Regions from separate parts of the Homo sapiens genome. Here all the other regions are linked to region 1. The links are contacts of gene promoters, found by promoter capture Hi-C in blood cells and fetal thymus (Javierre and others, 2016). All regions are on one chromosome and are shown on one strand. The core of a region is centred on a gene start or on the middle of the fragment in contact, and the rest is flanking DNA. Distances in the headings are between cores, read along the strand shown.

Region 1 (2,700 bases), core at 135-2,634:
CCTGGAGATCTTAGAAAATTGTGTGAGTTCTAACACTAGAAATTCTGACTTAATAGATCTGAGATTGGGTTTGAACATTGGTATTTTCAAAAATCAACCTAGAGATTCTAATGGGTAGCCAGTGCTTAGAATCACTGCTTTAAACAGAGCAAGGGGAGGTAGAGGGCTCAGGTAAAGAATATGACAGTACCACTAAGATTGTACCCATGAAGCAAAAAAGAAATGATCAATTTCCTATATAAAAAGCCACATCAGGCGAAAAGGGTCAGATGAGGGTTGGAGAAGAAAAGAAGAGAGAAAAGAGAGGTCTAGGTGAGGGAATGGCAGAGCTGGTAAGGCCAGGTCCTGTGGTCTTCTTGGGTGCTGGTCACAGAGTCCACTCTTTTGGGTAAAGATGAAGTCGAAGCTGAAGCCGCTTCCAGGCTCTTCTCAGCCCAGGGTTATCTTGAATCAGTAGAATTGAGTGGCTGGCAGGGTAGGCAGCCATGATGATCTGGCACAAATTATTCCACAGACTGTTGATGTCAAACATGTTGGACAGGTAGATAAACAGAGCAACTGCATTGAAAATGTAGAGAATGAGAAAGTAGCTGATAGCTTTGATGGCCCCCATGTGAGCCTCCATGCTGGGGTCGTTGGACCCTGTGGCATTGCTTCCCATGTGTAGGGTGTGTCTCTTGAGAGAGAGGATCAGCAGGGTGGCTGTCAGGATGAACATGATCAGAGGAGTCACAATCCCCAGGTTAAAGAAAAAAGCCAGACCGACCACATTGATCTCAGACAAGTATGTTTTCTTAGTGGAGTTGGAGGAGTGGATAGGGAAAGAATTGTTACAATACACAGTGCAGATGTTGATGCAGAACATGCTGTGACTGAAGGAAATAAACACGGACAGCCACAGAAGCCAGGGTATCAATCCAGTAATTCTCCACCTCAGTTTGAGGAAAAGGGGGTAGGAGAAATTGGCAATCTTCACAAAGTAGAAGAAACTGAGCCAGGCAGCAAACCACAGGCTACAAAAATTTAAGAATATAAAACTTATTTTGAATGCATAATATACAGCGTCTTCAGAATAAAAACTTAGGGAGGTTGAGCTGATGGTAATTTCTAACATCATGAGGCTTTGGAGAGCTATTCTGGATACACTCAGGAAAACCAGGATCCTGCCACTTGTGGAAACTGCCTTATTTTGAACCCATTCAGCTGCATGTATAGCCATGATGAAACCATTTGCAATGATACCAATGAGGTATTCAGCAAGTAAAACTGCTAAAATTAAGGTGATGAGAAATGGCGACAATTCACTTTCTGCAGGATCGCAGAGTTTAGTCATTCTGAGCTGTTGCTTCTCTTTGGTGTCTGGAGGAAAACATCTCCCTAGCATTTGATGGGCAGACTCTTGATAACTCCCAGTATTGATGTCATAGGAGGAAGCAATTGATGTATCATTTCCAAATTCACTGCATTTGTTTATTTCAGAATTCTTAGCTCTACATCTAGAGATGCAAATGTTGGAAGGATTTGGTTTCTAATCCTCTCTCTATTTTTGAACATGTTGGTAGTGGTTCAATAATGAGGCCCAGGGAAGCGCTTGAGTAGACTCTTTAAAAGCAGCTAACATGGTACTGAGGTCCGTGTTCTTTGGTAGCATCAGTTAATTTGAACATTGGTTAACTGAGTCATCATTTAACTTACTTTCACTTGTGACTGCAGAAAATGATTGAAAATAAAAACTGCTACACACATACACACACACACACGCACTTCTCATTTTGTGCTAAGAAATTTTCAAATGATTTATTTATAATTACTACATTTAAACCTCACAACAACCTTATGAGCATGTGCTTCTATTACCTCCATTTTGCAGATGAAGAAACTAAGGCATACAGAGGTTAAATAACTTGGCCAACATCACACAACTAGAGCGTGATAGAACTGGGATTCAAACCCAAGTCACCTGGTCGCAGAGTTCCTCCTCTTATCCACCATGTTATGCTACCTAGACCTGTGGATTCTTTTGTGTGCCCAAGACTAAATGCAGGGTTGATTCCACTATGACATTTTTTTCCTGGTAGCCTTTTATGTCCCCACCCTCTAAAGAAAAATCAATAAAGCAAGAAGACACTGATTTTTAAGAGATAGGACTCTCTTTTCAAAGTAGATTACTTGAGAGGTAATAAATTTAATTATACATAAAAGATCATACACACACACACACACACACACATATTCACCTTTCATTTTAAGCAAAACTAGGAAAATAAGAGTTGAAGGTAAAACTCCCTAGTTCCTAGCAAGGTAAGCTAGCGAACCTGAGAATAAAAGCAATGTCCCAATTCATCCAATTTTGGAATATTAAAACAAAAAGAAAGGAAAAAAGAATCACTTTTATCTTAAGGAATTTTTTTCTGATTTTAAAACGCAAGCATAGGACACATAATGATAAAATGGACTTTTCATTTCAGGGTAAATTAATTTTTATGAATGTATGTAACTTTAAAATAATGATGAAGTAATAATTCTAATAAAGAGAAAGTTGGTGGGTGAGAAGTCTCAGAAAATCTTTATAACATTTGGTTTTTACTTAAAGCCTTTTAAAAACAAGGCAAGAACTCATAAACGTTTTCTGGCTTGATTAATGATTTTAGATGAGTTGTTACGAATTTTACCATCTCATTTGAAAATCACTATTCCTGA
Region 2 (2,737 bases), core at 30-2,529, 140 kb after region 1:
GAAACAAAACAAACAAACAAAAACATTGATAGTAGCTACTAACACCAGCTACTGCATGGTAGAGTTTGAATTTGAATCAGATCTGATCCCAAAGACTCTGCTCTTAATTTTTATGTCATTTTGTCTCACCAACCTAAACATAATCCAAACTTGTATATCATTACATTGCTTATTGATTTATATTGATTATATAAAAGATATCTTGCTGATTGAATGAGAAGAATATGAGAGACATAGGAGAAAAAAATCACATGTAATGACTACAGATTTATTCTGGAGTTAACCTGTGAGGGAGAATTATTATATTCAGTTTTTAGATAACAATGTAGAATCTCACAGAGCTTAAGTAAATGTCAGTGTTTCTCAGTCATCACATGTTGGGGCCTGAGACCGAAGCTCTGATTTCACCCACTTCACACACTGTCCTTTCCCTCTATATCATGCCAAGAATAGTAATGCTATGACTGTTTCAGATATTCTGTAGCTCAGCAGTGACAGAAACTGTGAAACTGAAATTACTTACATTATTTGATAAGCTAAACCCAAAATTCATGAGGAAGAGAATAAGTAAAACAAACAAACAAACAGAAACCCAGACGTTTATAATGGACAAATAATTGTTCACTCATATTTGTTGTCCTTCCTGGAGGTGACCCTCCCAGTGGGAATATCACATATTTTTGCTCCATTAATTCAGGAGTGGTCGAGTGATTTTCTTCAGCCAGTGAGATATGGGTAGAAGTAATGAGAGTCACTTCATAGCAAGAGCTTTAAGGGTTGGCATTTGAGTCACATTCCCTTTTTCTCCACATCTGAGATCATGGAAGAATGTGTTTAAAGGGAGCTTTCTACTGCTCCAGTCCCTACAGTATAATAATGAGCAGAGTCTACTTCCTGGCTAGTGATGGGCGCATGGCATGAGTGAGAAACAAACATAGTTGTTAAAAGCCGTTGAAAGATTTGAGTTATTGGTGACTTCAGCGTGACCTTGCTGTAGCAGATGTTGTTAGTGTTACATTCTAATCCCTTAAGTTTCCTTTCATCGTTTCTGTGTTAAGCCCTATGTACCTTTGTGGTCAGAGATAAAGAAAGGCCAAGGTTCACAGGAGAGAGCCAGTGTGGATGCGAGAAACACAAAACCAGAGAGGCGAGGTGTTAGAAAAGCAGTAATGGAGAGAAAGTGAGAGACAGAGAGACACAGGAGGCCCAGGAATGCAGACAGAAAGCTAGAAGGAATAAAAGGTAACCCAAGAGAAGCAGCAGAAGTGACAAAGAAAAGCAGAAATTGTGAGCAGAAGGAGGGAGGAAAGGCAGGCAGGACACGGGACTGAGCATGGCCAGAGGCTGAGCACAGAAGCCAGTCTAAAGCACCCCTGTGAGGCTTTCTAGATGCCCCTCTGCTGAGAACTCTCACTCAGCCACATATTTCCAGCTTTCAGCAGCAGCAGCAAAGCCATTCAATTCAGGAAGCAAGGGGAGCCAGAACAGAGAGACAATAAGATCCCTTTGGGGTGACCATCTGCTACATGTTTACAATGGCTGAAGGCAGAAAGGGAATCAAGATATTTAGATTCAAGCTCTGGAATCCAGGCAAGACCCATTGGATGCTGCTGCTCTGACAGTCCCTGAAAGATGTGTGTGGTATGTGGATTGCACTGGACTTCTAGCTCTGCTTCTTAAAATGCTGTGACTATCCTAGTGGACCACCCTTCCCTGACATGACTCACTCTTGTATGGGGGCTGACGGCACAGACCTTGGACCGTCTAGGTTTATATCCTGGCCCTGTGAATTGCCAGTTGTATGACCTTGGGCTGATACTAATCCTCTTGGAGTGGAATTTTCCCCAGATGTAAGATAAAAAATAGTAGAGCTAGCGTGAGCATCAAATTGGATTATGGCTGCCACATAGGAAGAGTTCAATAACAGCAGTTTCCGCTGTTGTTATTGGCATGGAAACTTCATTCTCATCATCTCCCCTTCTAACCCAACCGCCAACCACACTTCTTTAACGTGAAGGTGATGGGTTTGTGTGTGTGCGTGTGTGTGTGTGTGTGTGTGTGTGTGTTGATGCATCTATGTATGGGTCCAGCAGTGTGCTGGCTGCACACTTTAATTATAGTTAACTGAATGAATACCTTTAGAGATCCATAAGTAGTAAATAAAATCAGAAATGAGAGCACACAAATGAAGCCCTGAGAAGACACATGTTAGCTGTCTCTCTGGAACCACAGGTATTTCCTAGAACTGTATCCTGGCCATCAGCAATGACATCTAATCACAGAAGTGGATCTATCTCCCTAAGCAGTAAGCATGCAACCCTCTCACTAATCTTAATGCCAAGTCTAAACTCATCTTGACTAACCGAAACCGAATCCTTATAACTCATTCATTCTCCAGACCCAGCCAATGCATCTTAATTCATAAGTCCAGCATGGCGAGCTTTTCTTATTAGGTCATTTACTTCGGCGGCTTCCTGACTGTGGTACCCAGATTTTGACACGGAGACATAAGCCCCTTGGGAATGGGGCAAGCAACCCTGGCCCTGCTTTGCAAGTGACTCCACAAGTTAGAATCTGTCAGCAACTTTCATTGAGTCTGTGATGAAGAGACTTACTGTTTCTCCCTATACAGCCCAGGGCAGCAGTATCCATGACTGATGTCAGGCTGGAGATAGCATGGAGGTGGCAGGGAAATCCAATGAGAATGATTCTCTTGCTGTTCTTTGCTCCCAGGGAT
Region 3 (2,718 bases), core at 83-2,582, 200 kb after region 1:
GAAGCGGTACAGGCAGCAAGCCAGCTGATGTGGAGCCTGAGGGTTTGATGTGGGAGTGTCTGCAGTGGTGCACCTCCAGGGATGGCCATCCCCCAGGCCTGACTTGCTCCCATAGGAGACTTTAACCCTAGGGGAACTGTCGGACCTGATCTTTCAGGATGGTCTTGCCCATCAGACCAGGCTGGTCCAACCTGAACACCCCTTGGTCTACTGGCCTCTCCTAGGGCCCTAGCCAGGCCACACCTTCTTGCAGGGCAATCTCCAGTGCCCTGGGGGCCCACCACAATAGCTTCTGTGCTGGTGGACTGTGCCTCATCAGTGGACAGCTCCAGCTGGGTGGCTCCATGGCCACACACAAGCCTACCATTCCCTCCCATACTGAAGCTTCCTCCAGGCACATAGCAACTCCCCACATCACTTTGCTGGCACATGCCAACATGAGTGGAAGGGGTTTGTTTTCTTTGCCCTGTCAGTGGAGGGGAGAGCAGTCTGCTCTACTTCCCTTTGCAGGCTGCCATTGCAGATGGAACCTTGGTGGGCACAGAGTCAGAAGCCCCACCCCTGCCAGTGCCTGGCCCCGAACTAACACTGTGCAGAGAACAGCACATCCTCCTCCACCCTGAACAATCACTCCTGCTTGTGGGGCATAGAGAAGGCACCCTGCACCAGCCAACACCCCACACCAGACCCAACACTACCTCCAGTGCAACTATACACAGTGTCCAGCAGGGTGCCTCACCCCACTGTCCCCCACCCCAGCTGCATTGCCTCTGTCACTGTGGTGAACAACTGCAAGGAGGCAGGCACTTGGCACCCACTAGCACTCTGCCACAGCTGCTGCACCTCACTGCACTACCCCCACCACCAGCACACTGCATGCCATGCCTCAAAGAGCCAGAGAACAAAACTGGGGCCTAATGCAAGTCCTCCAGTTAGAGAACACAGTATAGGAGTTGGAGCTAAGCATTGGCTTCCTAAAATCCTTCAGAAATGAAGCTAGTTCACTGAACCCACCTTATACCACAATCAGACCCTCAAGGTCATCAAATAGGTTTTAAAAAAAAAAAAATCCAAAGGTCAACAACCTCAAAGATTGAAGGTAGATAAGCCCACAAAGATGAGAAAAAAAACCTGATGGAAGAACACTCAAAACTTGAATAAAAATAAAAGAAAAACTGCAGTCCCTTCTTTCCTCCAAATGACCACATCACCTCTCCAGCAAGCATTCTGAACTGGGCTGCCATGGATGAAATGACAGAAATAGAATTCAGAATATGGATAGAAATGAAGATCATTGAGATACAAGAATATGTTGAAACCCAATTCAAGGAAGCTGAAAACCATGATAAAACAATGCAGGAGCTGACAGACAAAATAGCCAGTATAGAAAAGAATATAACTAAGCTGATAGAGCTGAAAAACACACTATGAGAATTTCATAATGTAATCACAAGTATTAGTAGAAGAATAGACCATGTGGAAGAAAGAATCTCAGAACTTGAAGACTGGCTTTCTGAAATAAGATAGTCAGACAAAAATGGAGAAAAAAGAATGAAAAGGAATGAACAAAACCTCTGAGAAATATAAGATTACGTAAAGAGATTGAGTAACTCATCATTGTCCCTGAAAGACACTGGGGAGAATGGAACCAACTTAGACAATGTATTTCAGGATATAATCCTTGAGAACTTCTCCAACCTAGCTAGAGAGGCCAACATTCAAATTCAGGAAATGCAGAAAACTCCAGTAAGATGCTACTCAAGAAGAACATCCCCAAGACGTGTAATCATCAGATTCTCCAAGGTCAAAATGTTAAAGGCAGCTATAGAGAAAGGTCAGGTCACCTACAAAGTGAATCCCATCAGACTAACAGTGGACCTCTTGGCTGGGTGCGGTGGCTCATGCCTGTAATCCCAGCACTTTGGGAGGCCAAGGCAGGTGGATTACCTGAGGTCCGGAGTTCAAGAGCAGCCTGGCCAACATGGCAAAACCCCATCTCTACTAAAAATATAAAATTTAGCTGGGCATGGTGGTGTGCACCTGTAATCCTAGCTACCCAAGAGGCTGAGGCAGGAGAATCACTGGAACCTGGGGGGGCAGAGGCTGCAGTGAGCCGAGATTGCACCACTGCACTCCAGCCTGGGCAACAGAGCAAGACTCCATCTCAAAAACAAAACAAAACAAAACAGTGAACCTCTCAGCAGAAACTTTACAAGCCAGAGGAGATTGGGGGCAAGAAATTCCAAACCAGAATGTCATATCTGGCTAAACTAAGCTTCATAAGCAGAGAAATAAGATCCTTTCCAGACAAGCAAATGCTGAGGGAATTTGTTACCAACAGATGTGACTTACAAGAGCTCCTGAAGGAAGCACTAAATATGGAAAGGAAAGACTGTTGCCAGCCCCTACAAAACACAATGAAGTACACAGACCAGTGACACTATAAAGCAACCACATAAACAAGTCAGCAAAATAATCAACTAACATCATGATGGAAGGATCAAATTCATACATATCAACATTAACCTTAAAAGTAAATGGGCTAAATACCCTAATTAAAAGACTGGAAGCTGGATAAAAGAACTATGACCCATTGGTATGCTGTCTTCAAGAGACCCATTTTACATGCAATGACATACATAGGCTCAAAATAAAGGGATGGAGAAAAGTCTACCAAGACAATGGAAAACAGAAAAAAACAGGGATTGCAATCCTTGT
Region 4 (2,700 bases), core at 134-2,633, 230 kb after region 1:
TTGGTTTTATACATTTTAGAGAGTCATGAGACATCAATCAAATACATTTAAGAAATACATTGGTTTGGTCCAGAAAGGTGGAACAACTCAAAGGGGTGGGGGTGGCTTCCAGGGTACAGGTGAATTTAAACATTTCCGGATTGACAGTTGCTTGAGTTTGTCTAAAGATCTGGGATAGATAGAAAGGGAATGTTCAGGGTAAGATAAAGATTGCGGAGACCGAAGTTCTTTTGAAGTCTTATAGTGGCTGCCCTTAGAGACAATAGGTGACAAATGTTTCCTATTCAGATCTTAGTTAATCAAAAGATCTAGCTATGTTAATGAGATATGTTAATAGCTAATAGAGATGCTTTACAGATGCAAATTTTCCTCCACAAAGAACAGCTTTGCAGGGCCATTTCAAAATGTGGCAAAGAAACATGTTTTGGGGTAAAATATTTTTGTTTTCTTCTTTGTCTCGTAATGTTATGCCAGAATCAGGTTAGAAAGTAAATCATGTTACATGGGTTAAATAAAACCCATCTGATGAGAACTTATGATATAGGGCATGACTCCCCAGACCCCTTTGATAGGAATTTGGGGCAAGATAAAAAAAATCAGAGTTTAGTCCTCACTCCCATGCTTCCTTTCTAGAGGTCCAGAATTCCTGGCACCCAGGCTCTGGGGAGGAGAAAGCCTTCCAGTTCTACAACTCCTGCATGGATACACTTGCCATTGAAGCTGCAGGGACTGGTCCCCTCAGACAAGTTATTGAGGAGGTGAGAAAAGTTGGGATATTAACTTTTCTGGATACATAACATATGGGACCAATGCATGCTTAGGGCTGCCATTTTTTTTTCTAGAGGGTGGGTCTTCTTCCTAGGGCCCCCCAATTTCTAGGAGGGAGATGGAGATGGAAATGGTTATGCCCTATGAAAGTATCAGGACCTTGGGAGAAGGCAGATAAAAAAGGATAGATGTGGCTTCCTAGAGGAATCGAAGGGCGCAGGGCAGAGGTCAGGCAGTAGCAGCTGTGTAAGAGCCGATCCAGACAATGGGGGATGGGCTCCACGGATCCTTATGCTCAGCCCCCTCTCTCTCCTTTAAAGCTTGGAGGCTGGCGCATCTCTGGTAAATGGACTTCCTTAAACTTTAACCGAACGCTGAGACTTCTGATGAGTCAGTATGGCCATTTCCCTTTCTTCAGAGCCTACCTAGGACCTCATCCTGCCTCTCCACACACACCAGTCATCCAGGTGAGGGATGCACTGGCGAAGACACAGTTGGACCTGGCCTGCCTCCAACTCTAGCCAATCATCCCTTAGAGGAAGGTTGCAGGTTGGGAAGAGAGGACACCTGTGTGATATAGGAAACAACCCTACCTTAAGGGAAAATTATTGATGTGAAAGTCAGGGACATTAGCTGGGGGTGGGAAATGGAGCAGCAGAGCCAGTGCTGGGAAGACAGAAGTAGGCCTGGTCTTTCTTACTGTTAATCTGGATTAGTCTCAGAGCCCCTTAACCAGTCCTCCTATCTCTAGGATTGCCCTCATTTTATTTACTCTTTATTTTTACTAGAGGGAACTTTTCTAAACCAAGGGCTAACTAACTATGCTACTGTCTGTATTTAAATGCTTGTCAGTGACCCAGTGGCTTGCCAGGTCATCAGAATCTAGTCCCTAATCTTTAGTAAAGCTTTGCAAGCACCTTGTGATCTGACCCCTACACACTTCTCCAGCCTTATCTCCCGTACATTCCTTCTCTCCCTTACCCCCAAGCCATGCTGACTCACTGCTGCTTCCAGGAATATTCCTCAGTTCTTTGCCTATGCTGCTCCCTGTGCCTGCAACCATCCCCCACACTGAACCTGGAAAACTTACATGTTTTTCAAATGTTGGCTTTATTATCTCTTCCAGGAAGTCTTCACCGACACCCTAGTTATGAGTTAGGTGAAGCCCTGCTCTCCCTACTTTCGTTTCCTCATGCTCTCAGCATTTATCACTCTGTGTTGAAGATTGTGAGCCTCTTTAGAACAGGACCATGCTTTATTCACCTTTGTTTCTCAGGACCTATCACAGGGCCAGGCAGCTAGAAGTTTTGCCAGGTATTTGTAGTGAGTGAGTAACTAAATAAAAACACTGGAGCTATCACTCTTGTGGTTAAACAATGTAATGCTATCTGCATATTTGGGCCCTACTGTCAAAAGAGCCACAAAATTACCAAAGGATAAGTACAAAAGAAGAATTGATTATCATTATGAGGTGTTCTAAAATTTAGTTTTAAACAGTCTGCTCAGGAGTTTAACTGATGTGGCCTTTAGGGGCCGGTTAAGATCTGGTTAAGGAGAGGCTCAGAGAGGAGAGAATGAGAGAAGGTGAGCTAAGCCAGCCTTGAAACATGGTTAATTCACACAAGTGGAGGTGAAGCTATGGGGCGTTGGAAATGCTGAGCCAGGGGGAGGACCTGGAATGGTGTGATTCCTTCGTGGAGTCAGTGAGGAGGCTGATCTATTTAATTGAGGATTTGGGAGGCAAGGTGGGGTGCAGTGGGAGGTAAAAGTGAGACTGAAGACATAAGGTTGAGCCTGATTATTTCTAAGAAGCCAGGCGAAGGTGAAACATTTGACATAATAGAAAAAAAAAAAAGAGCTACTGAGGCCATCCAACTCTTATGACAATTGTGCATAGAGCAAGTATTTTGATGGTTGTGCGTAGAGTCAGCA
Region 5 (2,700 bases), core at 11-2,510, 180 kb after region 1:
GAGGATGGACCAATCTAAAATAAATAATAACACACATACCCTTTGTCTTATGTAATGACAGATCTTCAATTTAAATTTATGTACTGCATCTCTATGTAAACTAATTAAAATTTCTGGCATGTTAGCCTATGCAATTAGACAAGAGAAAAAAAATGCAGGGCCAAGATGTTAAAAAGGAGGAGAAAAAAAGATTAACATGAATTTTAAATAATTTGTTTATCTGGAAATCTCAACAAAATAAAGTAAAAAACCAATGTGGCTGGGCACAAAATTTATATTGAGAGTCAAAAGACTTCACATATAAAACACATTAAGTTAGAAAATATAATGGAAGGAAAGAACCTCATTTACAAAAGCAAAAGCAAAGAAATATAACATTATTAGGAATAAGCTTAACAAGTAAAGATTTACATTTAAACTAGATTGACATTTAAAAAAATGCTCCTGAAAGACACAAAAGTAGATTTGAGCAAATGGAAAGGTGGAGTAAACAATACAAAGATATCAATTCTCCTCTAAGTGTATCCATAAAAATGATACAATCACAATTTAAAAATCAATAGTATTTTTTAAATCTAGAGAAGCAGATTACATTTTATTCATGCATTATTTCATTCATTTATATTTTTAGAGACAGAGTCTTGCTCTGTCAGCCAGGCTGGAGTGTAGTGGCATGATCATAGCTCACTACAGACTTGAACTGCTGGACTCAAGTGATCCTCCCACCTCAGCCGCCTGAATAGCTGGGATTACACATGTGAGCCATCGTGCCCAGCTTAGATTAAACTTTTTATTATGGAAAAATAAACAAGCAAAAAATTTTCAAAAACATTCTGAAATAGAAGCATAATGAGGAATAACTACATCTGTAAAACAGACTATATAGCTATAATGTAAACAGTACTATCATTGGGAAAAAATGAATTATTCAATAAATGGTCAAACAAACTAGCAGCTACCTAAAAAACAAAAGTTAATTCCATTACTGCCTATGTCATACCAGGCTGTTTAAAATGGGTCAAATATTTAAATGTAAAAAAAAAACATAGATTTAACATAAGAAATAAAAGAATGTTTATAAAAATGGGTAAGACCTTTCTTAGGATGACTTAAAACACAGATGTCATAGAAGATTGACTTTATGAAGAATTTTTTAAAAATTTGCTATGGTTAATACTACCCCAAGGTAAACAGACACACGAAAACACCAGAAAACAATTTCAACTCATATCACAAAAGGTTAGTTTGCATCATGTGTAAAAAGCTCCTATAAGAAAAAAATAAAACTACTCAGCAGAAAAATGGGCAAAAGATAAGCACATGTGAGAATATTTTCATCTTCATTCATAAGGAGAACAATAAAAATTAAAGCCATATTAAGATACTATTTTCAGTTATTAAACTGGCAAATGTCAAAAAGTTTTATAGTACACTGCGTGAAAATAGGTAGTGTAAAATGTAATAGCCTGCATGAAGGGCAATTATGTAATATATATTAAAGTGACAAATGCTTTTACGCTTTGGCCTAGCAATTCCTCTTCTAGAAATTGTCATTTAGATATTGTGTACAGGGAAATAATGTATGTATTCCATTTGGTGGAATAATCTGGAGTTATTAAAAAAGGAAACAAGAACCAAGAATGTCTTATGTATAAATATACAATGATCTGTACTGCATAGGACATATGTTCGATATACTACCATTTGTACAAAAAGAAAATGTGCTTGTATGCATTTGCTTATGCAGACGTATATGCTTAAAATTACCTCTGTAAAGACACAGAAGAAAGTGATAACATTGGTTGCCTTGAGGGAGGAGGATCAGATAGAAAAGTGTTTCAAAGTATCCTTTAAAATTTTGAACCATGGAAGTATATTATGCTTTGATGCTTTAATATTTGAATATAGTTATATCTTCTTTTGATATTCTGGCACTTTTAAAAACATCTGTATTTGGGGTACTATATGATCCTGATTCTCTAAGTGTTATAATTAACATATATATCTTATTAATCCAAAACTCAACTATGTAGTCTTTCTAGAACATAGCTAGGAATCAGAAAATAGCAAAATAAACCAGCAAGCAGACAAAATAAATGTTACAAAGTCCATGAACCACATAAAGCTTAGCCACTTTACTCACAGGAAGTCTGTTAGAGTCCCTTTTATCTGTTTGTTTATTTATTGGAAATAAGCTTGATAAAATGATTTACTCATAGAAAGGAGATAAGAAAAGACAGGTCTACTGAAAACAACAAGCAGTGTGTTAGCTCTCAATCAAGAGACATGTTGAGAGAAATTAAAAACCAACTGTACAAAGCTGACCAAAGGACTTAAGACATTTTTGTTCATTTAGTGCAGGAGCAAACCTTCTCTGAGATCATGTATATATGACAGTGGCATCCTAATGATCGTCTTGAGAAACCAAGAAGACATTCAGGTATGCTCAATAGAATCTATTAAGACTGATTTTCATGCCTAACATTTAAATAAAATATAAAAACTTTTGATGATTAAGTCTAAAACTTAGAGTCTCTGGAAAATGGAATAACACATTTCAGGTTGGTGGTGTTTTGGAGTATATTTTTAAATGCTTAACTGAAGATATCACCAAATGCCAGAGTAATTGGTCAGAGATTTCTTTTTCTATTGAACACAAATGAAAACATCAGTATCAAAAATTGGCAGTAGATATGCAAA

Evidence for each region. The method cuts DNA at HindIII sites, captures the fragments that hold promoters and counts their contacts. A CHiCAGO score of 5 or more calls a contact.
Region 2: a contact is called between a fragment that was not itself captured here and the fragment with the promoter of TAS2R39 in region 1, in 4 of 17 cell types (naive B cells, neutrophils, total B cells and 1 more). The highest score is 6.5, in naive B cells.
Region 3: a contact is called between a fragment that was not itself captured here and the fragment with the promoter of TAS2R39 in region 1, in 2 of 17 cell types (monocytes and neutrophils). The highest score is 5.5, in monocytes.
Region 4: a fragment that was not itself captured here is called in contact with the fragment with the promoter of TAS2R39 in region 1 in 1 of 17 cell types (monocytes); the score reaches 5.1 in monocytes.
Region 5: a contact is called between a fragment that was not itself captured here and the fragment with the promoter of TAS2R39 in region 1, in 7 of 17 cell types (total B cells, naive B cells, M2 macrophages and 4 more). The highest score is 10.4, in total B cells.

Annotation. Positions count from the first base shown.
Region 1 is chr7:143,182,103-143,184,802 of GRCh38, reverse strand. It overlaps TAS2R39 (taste 2 receptor member 39), which reads right to left and starts at 1,384. Exons shown (of 1, transcript NM_176881.2): 1 at 368-1,384. The coding sequence starts at 1,384. The coding sequence ends at 368. The HindIII fragment of the contact is 8,536 bases long and covers 1-2,700 here.
Region 2 is chr7:143,041,284-143,044,020 of GRCh38, reverse strand. No RefSeq gene overlaps it. Among named protein-coding and RNA genes, the nearest start is that of OR6V1, 9.7 kb to the left of the region's middle. The HindIII fragment of the contact is 4,130 bases long and covers 1-2,737 here.
Region 3 is chr7:142,982,047-142,984,764 of GRCh38, reverse strand. No RefSeq gene overlaps it. Among named protein-coding and RNA genes, the nearest start is that of KEL, 21 kb to the right of the region's middle. The HindIII fragment of the contact is 1,891 bases long and covers 387-2,277 here.
Region 4 is chr7:142,956,362-142,959,061 of GRCh38, reverse strand. KEL (Kell metallo-endopeptidase (Kell blood group)) reads left to right here. Exons shown (of 19, transcript NM_000420.3): 5 at 634-758; 6 at 1,089-1,235. Among named protein-coding and RNA genes, the nearest start is that of KEL, 4.7 kb to the left of the region's middle. RefSeq lists an enhancer at 569-1,284. The HindIII fragment of the contact is 585 bases long and covers 1,091-1,675 here.
Region 5 is chr7:142,999,437-143,002,136 of GRCh38, reverse strand. No RefSeq gene overlaps it. Among named protein-coding and RNA genes, the nearest start is that of OR9A2, 26 kb to the left of the region's middle. The HindIII fragment of the contact is 1,734 bases long and covers 394-2,127 here.